3 separate regions of the Homo sapiens genome follow, and regions 2 and 3 are each linked to region 1. The links are contacts of gene promoters, found by promoter capture Hi-C in blood cells and fetal thymus (Javierre and others, 2016). All regions are on one chromosome and are shown on one strand. Each heading gives the region's core, a stretch centred on a gene start or on the middle of the fragment in contact. The rest is flanking DNA. Distances are from core to core; before and after follow the strand shown. Region 1 holds the start of HLMR1 (hepatic lncRNA metabolic regulator 1). Region 2 overlaps SLC9A9 (solute carrier family 9 member A9). Region 3 overlaps SLC9A9 (solute carrier family 9 member A9).

What was found. The method cuts DNA at HindIII sites, captures the fragments that hold promoters and counts their contacts. A CHiCAGO score of 5 or more calls a contact.
Region 2: a contact is called between a fragment that was not itself captured here and the fragment with the promoter of HLMR1 in region 1, in 1 of 17 cell types (endothelial precursors). The highest score is 6.4, in endothelial precursors.
Region 3: a fragment that was not itself captured here is called in contact with the fragment with the promoter of HLMR1 in region 1 in 1 of 17 cell types (naive B cells); the score reaches 5.3 in naive B cells.

The regions. Positions count from the first base shown.
Region 1 is chr3:142,924,670-142,928,664 of GRCh38, forward strand. HLMR1 (hepatic lncRNA metabolic regulator 1) reads left to right here and starts at 2,006. Exons shown (of 5, transcript NR_038455.1): 1 at 2,006-2,227. The HindIII fragment of the contact is 9,222 bases long and covers 1-3,864 here.
Region 2 is chr3:143,765,566-143,769,560 of GRCh38, forward strand. The region is part of intron 4 of SLC9A9 (solute carrier family 9 member A9); the gene reads right to left. Among named protein-coding and RNA genes, the nearest start is that of SLC9A9, 81 kb to the right of the region's middle. The HindIII fragment of the contact is 2,070 bases long and covers 1,329-3,398 here.
Region 3 is chr3:143,673,228-143,677,222 of GRCh38, forward strand. The region is part of intron 5 of SLC9A9 (solute carrier family 9 member A9); the gene reads right to left. Among named protein-coding and RNA genes, the nearest start is that of SLC9A9, 170 kb to the right of the region's middle. The HindIII fragment of the contact is 590 bases long and covers 1,361-1,950 here.

The DNA of each region.
Region 1 (3,995 bases), core at 756-3,255:
TTTCTTTTTGGTTCTTTCTTAGAATTTCCATTTCTCTGCTTACCTTGCCCATCTGTTCTTGCATGCTGTCCTCTTTATCCATTAAAGCTGAGCACATTAATCATAGTGGTTTTAAATTTCTGGTTTGATAATTTCAACATCTTTGCCATATCTGAATCTGGTTCTGATACTTGTTCTGTCTCTTCAAACTGTGGGTTTTTTTTTCTTTTTTGTATGTCTTGTTTTTGTTTTTGTTTTTCTTTTTTGGATAGCAGGAATGATACGTGTCCTGGGTAAAAGGAACTGCTGTCAACAGGCCTTTAGTTAGGTGGTGGTAAGATCTGTGGGGAGAGGAAGTGTTCTCCTCAGTCTTTCAGTGAGCCCATTACTCTGGATTGTGAACTTCATGTGCCTCTAGGTCCCTTCCCCCACCTCACCTTAGGTGGGACAGGATGGCTGGAATGGACTTGAGTTGGATATTTAACCCCAGCAGGTCAGGCTCTGGTTACATAGTTTCTCCTGAGGACAGACCTTGTTAAGAACATAATGCTCTAGCATATTTCAAAATGGCTCCTTTTCCCCTCCCACTGCTGGAAGCAGGAGGGGATTTTTTTCCCTAATATTCACTGTGAGACCTGGTAGTGCTCCTGGAGGTAAAACCCACAAAAGTGTGGGGACCTCTCTATGATTCAGTTCCCCTGGATTTTTATCTCTCAGACTTGTTCACACTTGTCTGAGAACTGGCTCCAGCAATTCACAGTTACAAGTTCAGACTTTTCTGTGCCAGCACTGGTTCCCATGGAGGTTTCTGCTCTTGAAGTTGTGATTCTCTGTATTTGCCTGTTGGTCTTCCCAATTTTGGGGGAAGCAATTTGTCCTGTGCCATCACTTCTCTTATAGAGCTAAGAAGAGTTGTTGATTTTTCACTGCTTTTTTTTTTTTTTTTTTGAGACAAGAATATCGCTCTGTCACCCAGGCTGGAGTGCAATGGTGCAATCTCGGCTCTCTACAACCTCCACCTCCCAGGCTCAAGCAATTCTCATGCCTCAGCCTCCCGAGTAGCTGGGACCACAGGTGTGCACCACCATGCCTGGCTAATTTGGTTTTTCAGTTTGTTCAGCTTTTTACTCATTAGGACAGAGTGGCAACTTCCAAATTTCTTACATGCTGAACCAGAAACTGTTTTGTTAGTTTTTTAGGATTCACTTTAAGTCTTTTCCTCCAGGGAGACTTCCCCAACTTTCAGGTCTGCATTAGGGACCCCTATGATGTGCTCCTGTAGATGCTTTTTGTTTCCCATAGCTTTTATACATATTGTGATTGTCAATTCACTTGTCAGATTCCCCCGTTAGACTGTTGGCTCTGTGTGGAAAGGACGGTTTGCCTTACTCATTCCTGTATTCTCAGCACCATCCATCAATGCCTGACATATAATAGGTATTGAATAAATATGTGTTGGGTGAATAAATGAATGAATGGAAGAGCTTATTCTCTGTAATTACAAATAAATTAGAAGCAGCTGTTAAATATAATTCATTCATTCAATCAATCACTATTTACTAAAAGCCTATCATGTGCCAGGCACTAGGTTAAGAAACTGATGATGAAAAAGCCACATAAATATGGAAACATGTTTGTAACACAATCTAATGAAAAAAAACCAGAATACATGTATGTACACCATAATTTAAACTCTTTAAAATATGTAGGAGGCAGGCTGGTATTGCACAGTGGTTTTAAGATTTTCTATTTTTAGTTAAAGTCTCTTTCTTCAAATGAAATCTTAGAAGGACAATGTATAAAACATAAAAAGCAAGATTTTCTGCTTGATGCGGGGGCAGAGGCCAGAGCCTGCCTACCCTTTTCCTAGTCTGCTCTCCTGTCTGTCCTCTGTGCTACTGCCACCTTCCCAAGCCAGAAGTAAGCCACTGTGGCACCTTCACAGAGGATTATTTGAAAATTCCCAAAATAGACTTCTGGTTAAACATTGCAGTTTAAAAACCTGTGTTTTTCTTTCATCTCTTTCAAAATGCTACTAAAATGACAGCAAAGAAGCCAAAAAGGCCCAAGTCCACAAGACAGAAAGAATAGGTGAAAAGTCCATGTCATCTCATTTTTGGAGATGGACATGGACAGGGGCTGAAACTGCAGTACCAGCAGATGGGGAGCTTAAGAAGGAAGCTAGTTCATGGCACAGCACCCGTAAAGTCCCCAGAATTGGAGGCACCAGATTCTTCTGAAAGAAAAGGTAAGAGGCGGAGCTGAAAACAGGAGGTTTATGGAAAGTCCTTGGAGAAAGCAGTCAGACCTCTGGATTCCTTCCTCATCTTTCAGCAGCCTCTCTCTTGTCCTGGCAGAAACCAGGTTTACTCTCTTGGGAAACTCAACCACAGGAGGATCTGGGGACACAGACCGGCGAAGGATGGTAGAGATGCATCACTGAACTAGGAGAATTAAATGATTGGCTTAGGGTTGGGAATGCGACCTCAACTGGATCAGTTGAGGCCATCCTTGGCATTTTTAAATTCTGAAGCTGGAAGTGTGGGGAGGATAGTGTGTGTATTCTGCAGGTGTTGAGGTCCTTGTTCTAGTCCTTGAGATTCCTGGCTCCGACTGTTTCCTGTAACTCTTTAATTCTATGAAACACCCAGTATTCTTCTATTTTATTCTGCTCAGGCTGCATTAACAAAGTATTACAGACTGGGTGGCTAAAAATGGGAATTTAATTCCTTGTGACTTTGGAGACTAGAAATCTGAGATCCAGGTGTCATGGAGGTTGGTTTCACTCTGGAAACTCTCTTCTTGCTTGCATATAGGCCTCCTCTCTGTGCCTTCACTTGGCCTTCCCTCTGTGTGTGTCTTTGTCCTAATCTCACTTTCTTACAGGGACACCAGTTAGATTAGATTGGGATCCATCCGAATGACCTCAATTTACCCTGATTACCTCTTTAAAGGCCCTATGCCAAATATGGTTATATTTGGAGGTTCTGGGAGTTAGGACTTCAACACATGAATTGTGGGGGGACAAAATTCAGCCCACAATGCCTTCTACTATTGCCAGCAAATAAATAGCTTTTGAGATAACTTAAGAGATTTTAAATTTAGTTTCTGGTGCTTGCACGCAAAGAGTTCTGACTTATACTATTCACTTGCCTCTTGGATATTGCCTTTTGTCCATTATAGTTGTCATTAACTGTTATTTAAATCCGCATTACCATTCACCTTTTCCTATGTTTCTGTTCCTTAAGATGGGAGGTAGATCATAGTTTGCATAGCCCATGGAGTCAGATGACCAAAGTTGTAAAGTTCTGTTTGCTGGCTGCCTGATCTTGGTGAAGTTCTCTGTGCCTCAATTTCCTTATCTGTAAACTGGGGATGGTGATAATAACAGATATTCACAGAGTTGTTGTGAAGATTAAACGTCTTAATGAATGTAAAGCACTTAGACCAACCTGGCTTATGGCGAGTGTTACATAAGTTCATGCTATCATTTATTCATTCAGTAGTCTCTATAGGGAATAGCCATGTGCCATGGATGTGGTAGATACTTAGTAAATATTCATTCTCTCTTGTTAATGTATGTGTTATAATAAGTGATTCTCAAAGTTATCTTCAAATTCTTATTACTCTGTATATTGTTATCTGCCAGTGTAATGATATCTAAAGCACATATCTTAAATACTTTAAACAATCTGATATAACAAACAAAGATAGAGCCATTTTCTTCTACATTGGAAGCTGTGCTGTGTAGGATGAGAGACTGGGGTGGAAGTAGGGATTGCAGGCTTCTGGTCCTGGCTATACCCTCACACTGTGAGACTCTGAACAAGCCTATACTCTCTGGGCTCTGCCTCCTTTATTTACACACCAAGGCTGGACTATGTAAGCTTTAGGCTCTTTAATGTTTTATATCACTTATCTTTGAAAGGCCATCTTAGGTGAGCTGCTCAGAGTCTTTAAAAGCTACATTTCCCCCTCCTTTCTTACTTTAAATATAATGGTAATTAAAATGTTTC
Region 2 (3,995 bases), core at 1,114-3,613, 840 kb after region 1:
AGCATCAATTGTCAGATGGTGCTAAAGACTGCTCTCTGTGACAAATATAAATTCGTGATTGTTGATATAAGTGACCAAAATAATCTATGCCTCAAAATCACCTGGGCCCTGTACAGTCAAATTCAATATTACTTTCATTCATAATTAAGTTTTTATTCAGGATATATGGTGAAATGATTGCATTAACAGCCCCACTTCCTCACCCTTCCATCCTTTTGCCATGTACCTTTGCAGTGTCCTCTCTGACTGTAGCCTCAGGCATGTAGCCTGCTTTGTCCAATAGGATGTTAGCAGACTTGGCTTAAGCAGAAGCCTAAAAAAGCCTTGTAAATTTTTGCTGTTTCTGTCACATCTCAGCCAAAACCATGAAAACACATCTGTCCAGGCAAACCTGCTAGAAGATGAGAGGCATGTGGCCCAGTCACTTATGTCATACCAGGCAAATATTAGGCACATGAATGAGACCAACTGATACAAGAAGAATCACCCAGCAGAGCAAAGCCTAAAGCCCTGACCTGCGGACTCTTGAGCTGTTATTGTCTTAAGCTACTGAGTTCTGTGGCAGTATGTCAAGAAGCATTATTGAGGCAATAGATACCTGATAGATGATGCATGCTAAGTTCTGGAATAGCATAGAAGTTCTGTTGGACAACAGTGAACTGTAGACAAAGACAAACTACAATTTAGAATATAGGATAGATGGGAGTCAGAGAAAACAAAGGTGAGAAAGTGCCTCATATTGAGGATAAGTTGATATTTGAAGAAAGAAAATTTAAAAGGATGTAAAGTCAGACAACAAGGCCAGAATAAATATAAACATACTTAGCTAATATGTATGAAAGGAAGAAAGTCCTGATGTTGGAGGATGGCTACCACATAAGATCTGCTGTCATCACACATTTAAATATAGTGGGGGTGATTGCTTTAAACATTAAGGAATTGCAAATGTGACTATTTCTACAACTGGGTATGTTTTCTTAGCTGTAGGTGGAGGGTAGGCTGGAAAAGTTTTTTTTGTTTTTGAGACACAGTCTCACTGTGTCACCCAGACTGGAGAGCAGTGGCCTGATCTTGGGTCACTGCAACCTCTGTCTCCCAGGTTCAAGTGATTCTCCTGCCTCAGCCTTCTGAATAGTTGGAACTACAGGTGCCACCACCTTGCCTGGCTAATTTTTAAAAAATATTTTTAGTAGAGACGGGGTTTCCCTATGTTGGCCAGGCTGGTCTAGAACTCCTGACCTCAGGTAATCTGCCTGCCTTGGCCTCCCAAAGTGCTGGGATTACAAGCATAAGCCACCATGCCCAGCCTTAGACTGCAAGAGTTCTAAAGCTTTTTCCACATGTCCCATAATTCTATCATTTCAGTATACTAGTTATTGTTTTGCAAATTTATTCTTAAAAAGTATGGTAATCATGGCCACAATTGCTGTAAGCAATGGGAAAGCAGTATCTGTATCATTAATACCACTATGATCTGAGTGCGCTTGAGCTAGAATTCATGAGAATTCTGCTAATATTATGGTTATGGTGTTTATAACACGTTTCACTCAGGAGGTATGCTTCTTGCCTGGACCTCTAGATATTTCTGCAGAGGACAGAGTGAAACAACTGAGGTTGGACTAGAGTAACATGTCCAACTTCCTGCATGTTATTCATGCCAGGGTGTCTTTGGGCAGGACCGGGTAACAAGAGCTTAGAAGATGAATTTCCCATACTGAGTAAATTTATTTACCCCTTCCCTATCATATACACAGATGAGATGGCGCTGCCTTTCAGGTGATTTGGTTTGTGAAACAGTAAGTGTCTGTGTATGTGTGTGTGTGTGTGTGTGTGTGTGTGTGTGTGTGTTTACAGAAAATTAACTTCAAGGGCCACATTAACTGTTTGTTTGTTTGGAGGGAGGATAGTTCCACGGACAAATGTCTTGTTAACCTCAACTAGAAAGCTCTCTCTGGCCAGTGACTCACCTCATTCTTATATACCTGTAGCATCACACCTATTGAAAAGAACACCATAGACTCCTTGGTTTCTATTATTTTGTGGTAAGGAACTTTAAGTACAGTCTTGTTTCAATGGAGGTACAACAGTTTAGAATTTCTTTAATAGCAAGTGTGTTTGTCTATCCTTTACAACACAATTTTTTTAAAGTTCAATACATGTTTAAAAATTGCCTATTTCTTTGAAGAAATGGCTATTTAGATGCCTAATTTCCAACCATCTTTATCACTTCACGCATTTCTATGCCCTTTTTCCATCTTATAACCTAATGATTATAAAGAGGAAGTTTAATGATTTAGAATTAACTATACAGGTAGTAATTATGTCTCTCACTTCCTCAGAAGTTTTTTAATAATCAAAATATATTTTCTTGAAGACAGCTGGTGTAAATGCTAATGTTTGCTTTGCTGTTAAATTTTGGACAAGGCAATTAAAGGTAAATAGATGACAGCTATTGAGATGCTTTCCATAACTACTCCCTTTGCCCTTCCAGCTAGACTTTTCCATCTTTCTCACCACTTTCTTTTCCTTCTTATTCTTCACACTACCTCCTCTCCTCACTGTCACACAGGGCTCACTGACTGACTGCCAGACACCCAGGGTACACATATCAGGGGCTCCTCACTCTCATTTATTCTCAGCGAGGGGGAAAATCAGAGAAACATTTCTACCTAAAAATAATGATGATTCCTGTGATAATAAGTAATCAAAAGAATACCACTTGTTAAGGGGGCACTGCATATCTGGCATTATTCTAAGAGTGTCATGTATATTAATTTATTTAATCTTCACAACAACCTACCCTGTATTTTATGCCCAAGTTATAGATGTTGAGAAAGATTCTTCTATTTTGTTTAAGGGATGAAAGTTTCATCTCTTGGTATGAGATGTACCACATTTCCCTGTGCATGTGCTGTAGTGATAGAATACTTCTTACAAGGCATTGGAACTACAGGGGATATATCTCATATAACATAGGAGGAACCTGTTTAAGATATCAAAGAATTATTTTAGAGAAAATAACTCCTAATTACGCATACAATAAGACACATAGATTATGTATAATATGGCTAGAGATGTACAGTGCTATATGCATAATAGGTACCTAACAGGTGTTGAACAAATGACATGGCGTATTAGTGTTCTGTGCATGTGTCTTCATTCAGCAAAATGTGGAGCCCATGAAGGGAAATGGGATTTCTTGGGAAAGTTTCCAATGCTGACATCCTAATGCTATTTAATTGAAAACAAGATTAGACTCTTGCCACTGTGCAACAGTGTGTATAAATGTTTGTATTTTATCACTTTGACAAGATGTTTTATATTGACATATGAAGAGCAAAAATACAATCAGATCTTTTAGTCTGTCATAAAAGGTTAAGCATGGCATAGTGTTTAAAAGCTTGTTTCTACTCAGGTTGCCCCATTTGCATTTGCTATCTTTGTGACTTTGGCCGAGTTATCTTTTCTGTGCCTTAGTTTCCTCACTTGTATGGGGAGAAGAAACAACATGATAGCATTATCAGGATTAAAGGAGATAAACATATGTAAAATACTTGGCAAGTGATACATAGTATTATAGATAGTAAATATTATTACTGCTCATAATTAAAAATGAAATAAGGAGCTGCCAAAGTAGATGCAAATAAAATTGTATTTTGTAATCTTAATAATACAAAAAGGGTTTCTCTAACCCTCATTACAATCTAAACTCGCCTGGGACCCTGCTCTGGGAAAGCAGTATCTGTATTATACGTTTCCTATACCCAGAAATCTAACTTCTCTTTATTCCCCTTGATGGATTCATGTAATCTCTACCCATGTTAACATTAGCCAAAACAAGCCCATATTGAATTCAATCGCATAACCAGTCCAGTCTATTTAATGTTTTATTCTTCTGTCCCTAAAGTATTCCTCTGAAACAAAAGCAAAGCCAGAGGTAAGTACAAGAAAACTTGAGAACTGCTTCTTTTCCACACTGTTATAAATGCTCTCTT
Region 3 (3,995 bases), core at 406-2,905, 750 kb after region 1:
GGCGAGGGGACAGTAATCATCATTTTGCCAAGTTGGAGAATTCATACAGGGAAAACCCCACCCATAGGAGCCCTGCAGGATGAGAAGCTGGACGAGAAGGCATATTCTGTGTCCATGCACTCAGTGAGAGGATGGCTATGGTTAGTGATGATTGTCGACACGAATTACCTGCAATAAGGTATAGATGGTGACTTAGGGTGTAGACTGGCAGTCAAATCACAAAGAAAATGCACATTTAATTAGAGAAGGAGTGGAACTGGTTTGAAATATCAGTGAAATACCAATCCAAATACAAATCTGTATTTGGCTTTATAATTTATGGTTGGGGTAGGATGGAGTAGGGAAGGGTGGGAGGGCAGGGCATAAAAGGCCAGCAAGACCATACTTATTAATTATATTGTTAATTAATAATATTAATAATATTGATTATTCTATCAGAGGAACTATGATCTAGATAATCCAAAACAGAGACTAGTAGAAAAGACTTTCTGACAACATTTCCTAATGTTCAATATGTCTAGGGGGGCAGCATCTGGAAACATGGAGAAAATATTCTAAATTTTAAATATTTAAGTGTATAGTAGCTATTACAAAAAGCAGAAATTCCACATGAGGATAAATATAATTTTATTAATTTTTTCTTTTTAGTCTCTTTACATTTGAGATTTACCGTGGAAGTGGATGGACAAGTAATGAAAACATAAGAAAACAAATTCTTTAATTATGGTCATGTAGGAAGAAAATGGTATCTGGAAATTTTATGTTCAGGAATAAATAGGAATATCATGATAGTGTTATCTAAAAATCCAATAAAGTGCCTGAGAAGAATTCACTGCTAATAAAAATGTGTTTTAAAACACTTAGCAATTTACACATAATTTTCCATACAGCTCTTCATTTGATCTGACAAAAATTCTTTGAAGAAATGGAAGGTACTTTCTGTTTTGTTTTGTTTTGATAGTCTCTATTTTAAGGAAGTGGAAAGTGAGGTTCCAATAAGTTAAAGCATTAAACTGTGATGCTCCATTCACCCATGACACTAATCTTGCCTTAATGAACTGACACTTTTGATATCCAGGACGCTCTGACCACCAATCCCAACCTCATTTTTAGGAAATTTTTCTACCCTTATTACGTGCTTATTTTATTTTTAGTGGAAGGCTCCTCTTGGGATTAGTTTATGAGACATCCCTAACTGTGATCCTTTTATGCAGGCAATTTCACAGGGCCTCTCTTAGATGCTTTCACCCATAAACACACGAGCAGTGCCAGCGCCCTGGTTCACACTTCCCCTTGAAACCGGTGCGCCCCAGAATTAGAGCGACACCTAGCCGTGATTTTAGGTAGTACATGCTAGGAAAGCTTATTTGGGCAAGGGAGACAAACAAGAGACATCAGAGCTGGTGGCATCTCAAGAGGATACTACTCCCAGAGGTAGAAATCTCAGAGGTTTTCTAACAGCACTTTCTACTGGGAACTAGGACTCCTGCAGTTCACATTCTCTGAGGAGGAACTATATGATAAGGGAAGTTTATTATAATTATAATAAAAGGTAAGATGTGCACCCTTGAAATTACATACAGGTTCTACCAGTGCAATAAATGATATCTATTTCAGATTAAAAATATCAGTTCCAAGCCTCCTTCATCTCAATAATTCTTGACATTTACTCAGAAAAGCAAATATTTCATTCAGTTTTTATATTCATCGGGGCTGTGGACTAGTGCTACTAGCATCAACGAGACACTTGTTAGAAATGGGGTGTTGGACTTGACCCTGGACCTACGGAATCAGAATTTCAGGAGGCAGAACCCCCTAATTAGTACTTTCAGACTCTCCAAGTGAGTTTTACGTTCACTCACATTGGAGAACCTACTAATATAGAGCAAGAAGTAATCTTAAAAATCATCTAATTCCTCTAGGAATATATTAGGCAAATAAGGCCTAGAAAGCTTAAGTGGCCACCTTGAATTTTCCCTGCACATCAGAAATATGCCTTGTGCATAGTAACAGGGATTGAACTAGACCTGAGGTCTCCTAACTCCCAATAATAAAAATAGCATAGTGCTATGACACTTGTCAAGTGCAGGCTGGTTGGGCAAAACATTAGCTAAACAGAGACTTTGACTTTGTATCTATATTCCTCCTGGCTTCTAATTTCAGTAAATGAATTATCATCCATGCATTTAATTTAGGCACCAGACAGGATAATCCACAGTAAATTTTCTAAATTCAATTAACATGAGCCAGTAGTAGTCTCCTTATGAAAGCCAACAACGAGGGCTCAGGGCTTCATCAAGCACTTGGGATTCTTAGCACACTTTAGCTACTGGAGCAAGCAGAGATGTGTGACTTACATGTAATATGAGAAGTCATTGATTTTCATTTCTTTTTTCACTTCACGGCAGACACAATATCATACTGAGTTTGAAGATTTTCCTTTAAGATTTTCTCATTATACTTCAGAGTGATTTACTAATATCATATAAAAATGATTGGTTATTTTCTCATTTTTATGAAATTTTGAAGTTTTCAAGTGTACAGATGTGTTTCCACATAAATCCATAAATATGATCATAATATGCATACTCTTTGTTTAGTCGTTTGCTTTAATAGTCTTTTTTCTTTTCCTTTTTGGTATGTCTCTCTTTTTTCCACCTCTTCCTCTCTTAAACTCATATCTCCTCTCTCCCCAAGTAACCCAATTTTACAACGCAGTACAGAGGTCCTCAATGTTTTTGGCACCAGGGACAGGTTTCTCGTGGGGGATGGGGAGGAGGGCGAGGTGGGGATGGTTTCGGAATGAAACTTCCACCTCAGCTCATCAGGCATTAGATTCTCATGAGGAGCACACAACCTAGATCCCTCGCATGCGCAGTTCACAATAGGGTTCACACTTCTATGACAATCTAATGCTGCCGCTGATCTGACAGGAGGTAAAGCCCAGGTGGTTATGCTGGCTGGCCTGCCACTCACCTCCTGCTGTGCAGCTTGGTTCCTAACAAGCCACAGACCTGTACCCGTCTGTGGCCCGGGAGGCTGGGGACACCTGACCTAGTATATGTCCTACCAATTTCTCTTTATACTAAAATTCTCATTATAACAATTACACACACACTTGTAACAATGTTAAATTAGATGTTTAAAATGAGAAACAAAGCAAAAACAAACAAACAAACAAAACAAACAAAAACACATGTTATGTAGTGAGATGTACAATCTTAAAAGCAGCTGGGTGTGGTGGCTCATGCCTGTAATCCCAGTAATTTGGGAGGCTGAGGAGGGCGGATCATGAGGTCAGGAGAGCGACACCATCCTGCTCAACATGGTGAAACCCTGTCCCTACCAAAAATACAAAAATTAGCTGGGCGTGGCGGCGTGTGTCTGTAGTTACAGCTACTCGGGAGGCTGAGGCAGGAGAATCGCTTGAACCCAGGAGGCGGAAGTTGCAGTGAGCCGAGATCACGCCACTGCACTCCAGCCTGGGGACAGAGTGAGACTCCTTCTCAAACAAACAAACAAACAAAAACAAACAAAACAAAACAAAAAAACCCAGCACGTGTCTGAAAACCAGTTACATGACTCCATTGAACCTCTCTGCCATTTAAGAATGTGAAAGATCCTAGACTAGAGGTTAAGATCTGTGAAGGGAGTTCTTTTACTACTTGTGAGTTGTAAATCTGAACTCCCACATGGGGAGGGTTGTTTGCACATCTCAAGCCTGTAAAAAGAGACTTCCCTAGACCATCAGACAGCTTAAGATGACACACATGGAGTTTGGGGACACAGTGGATTACTGTTTGACTCTCGCTTTGCCATTATTACATGGGACTGCACATGTTCATTGCTGAGTTGAGTCTGTGATTACAACTCACAAACCAAATATTTTTATCCAGCAAGTCGGAAAGTAGTAGTCCCACACAATATTTTAAGGGGAGACTGGAAGAAAAAAAAGCACTTTCTGTGCCTATACCTCACAAGTCCCACTTTTCAAT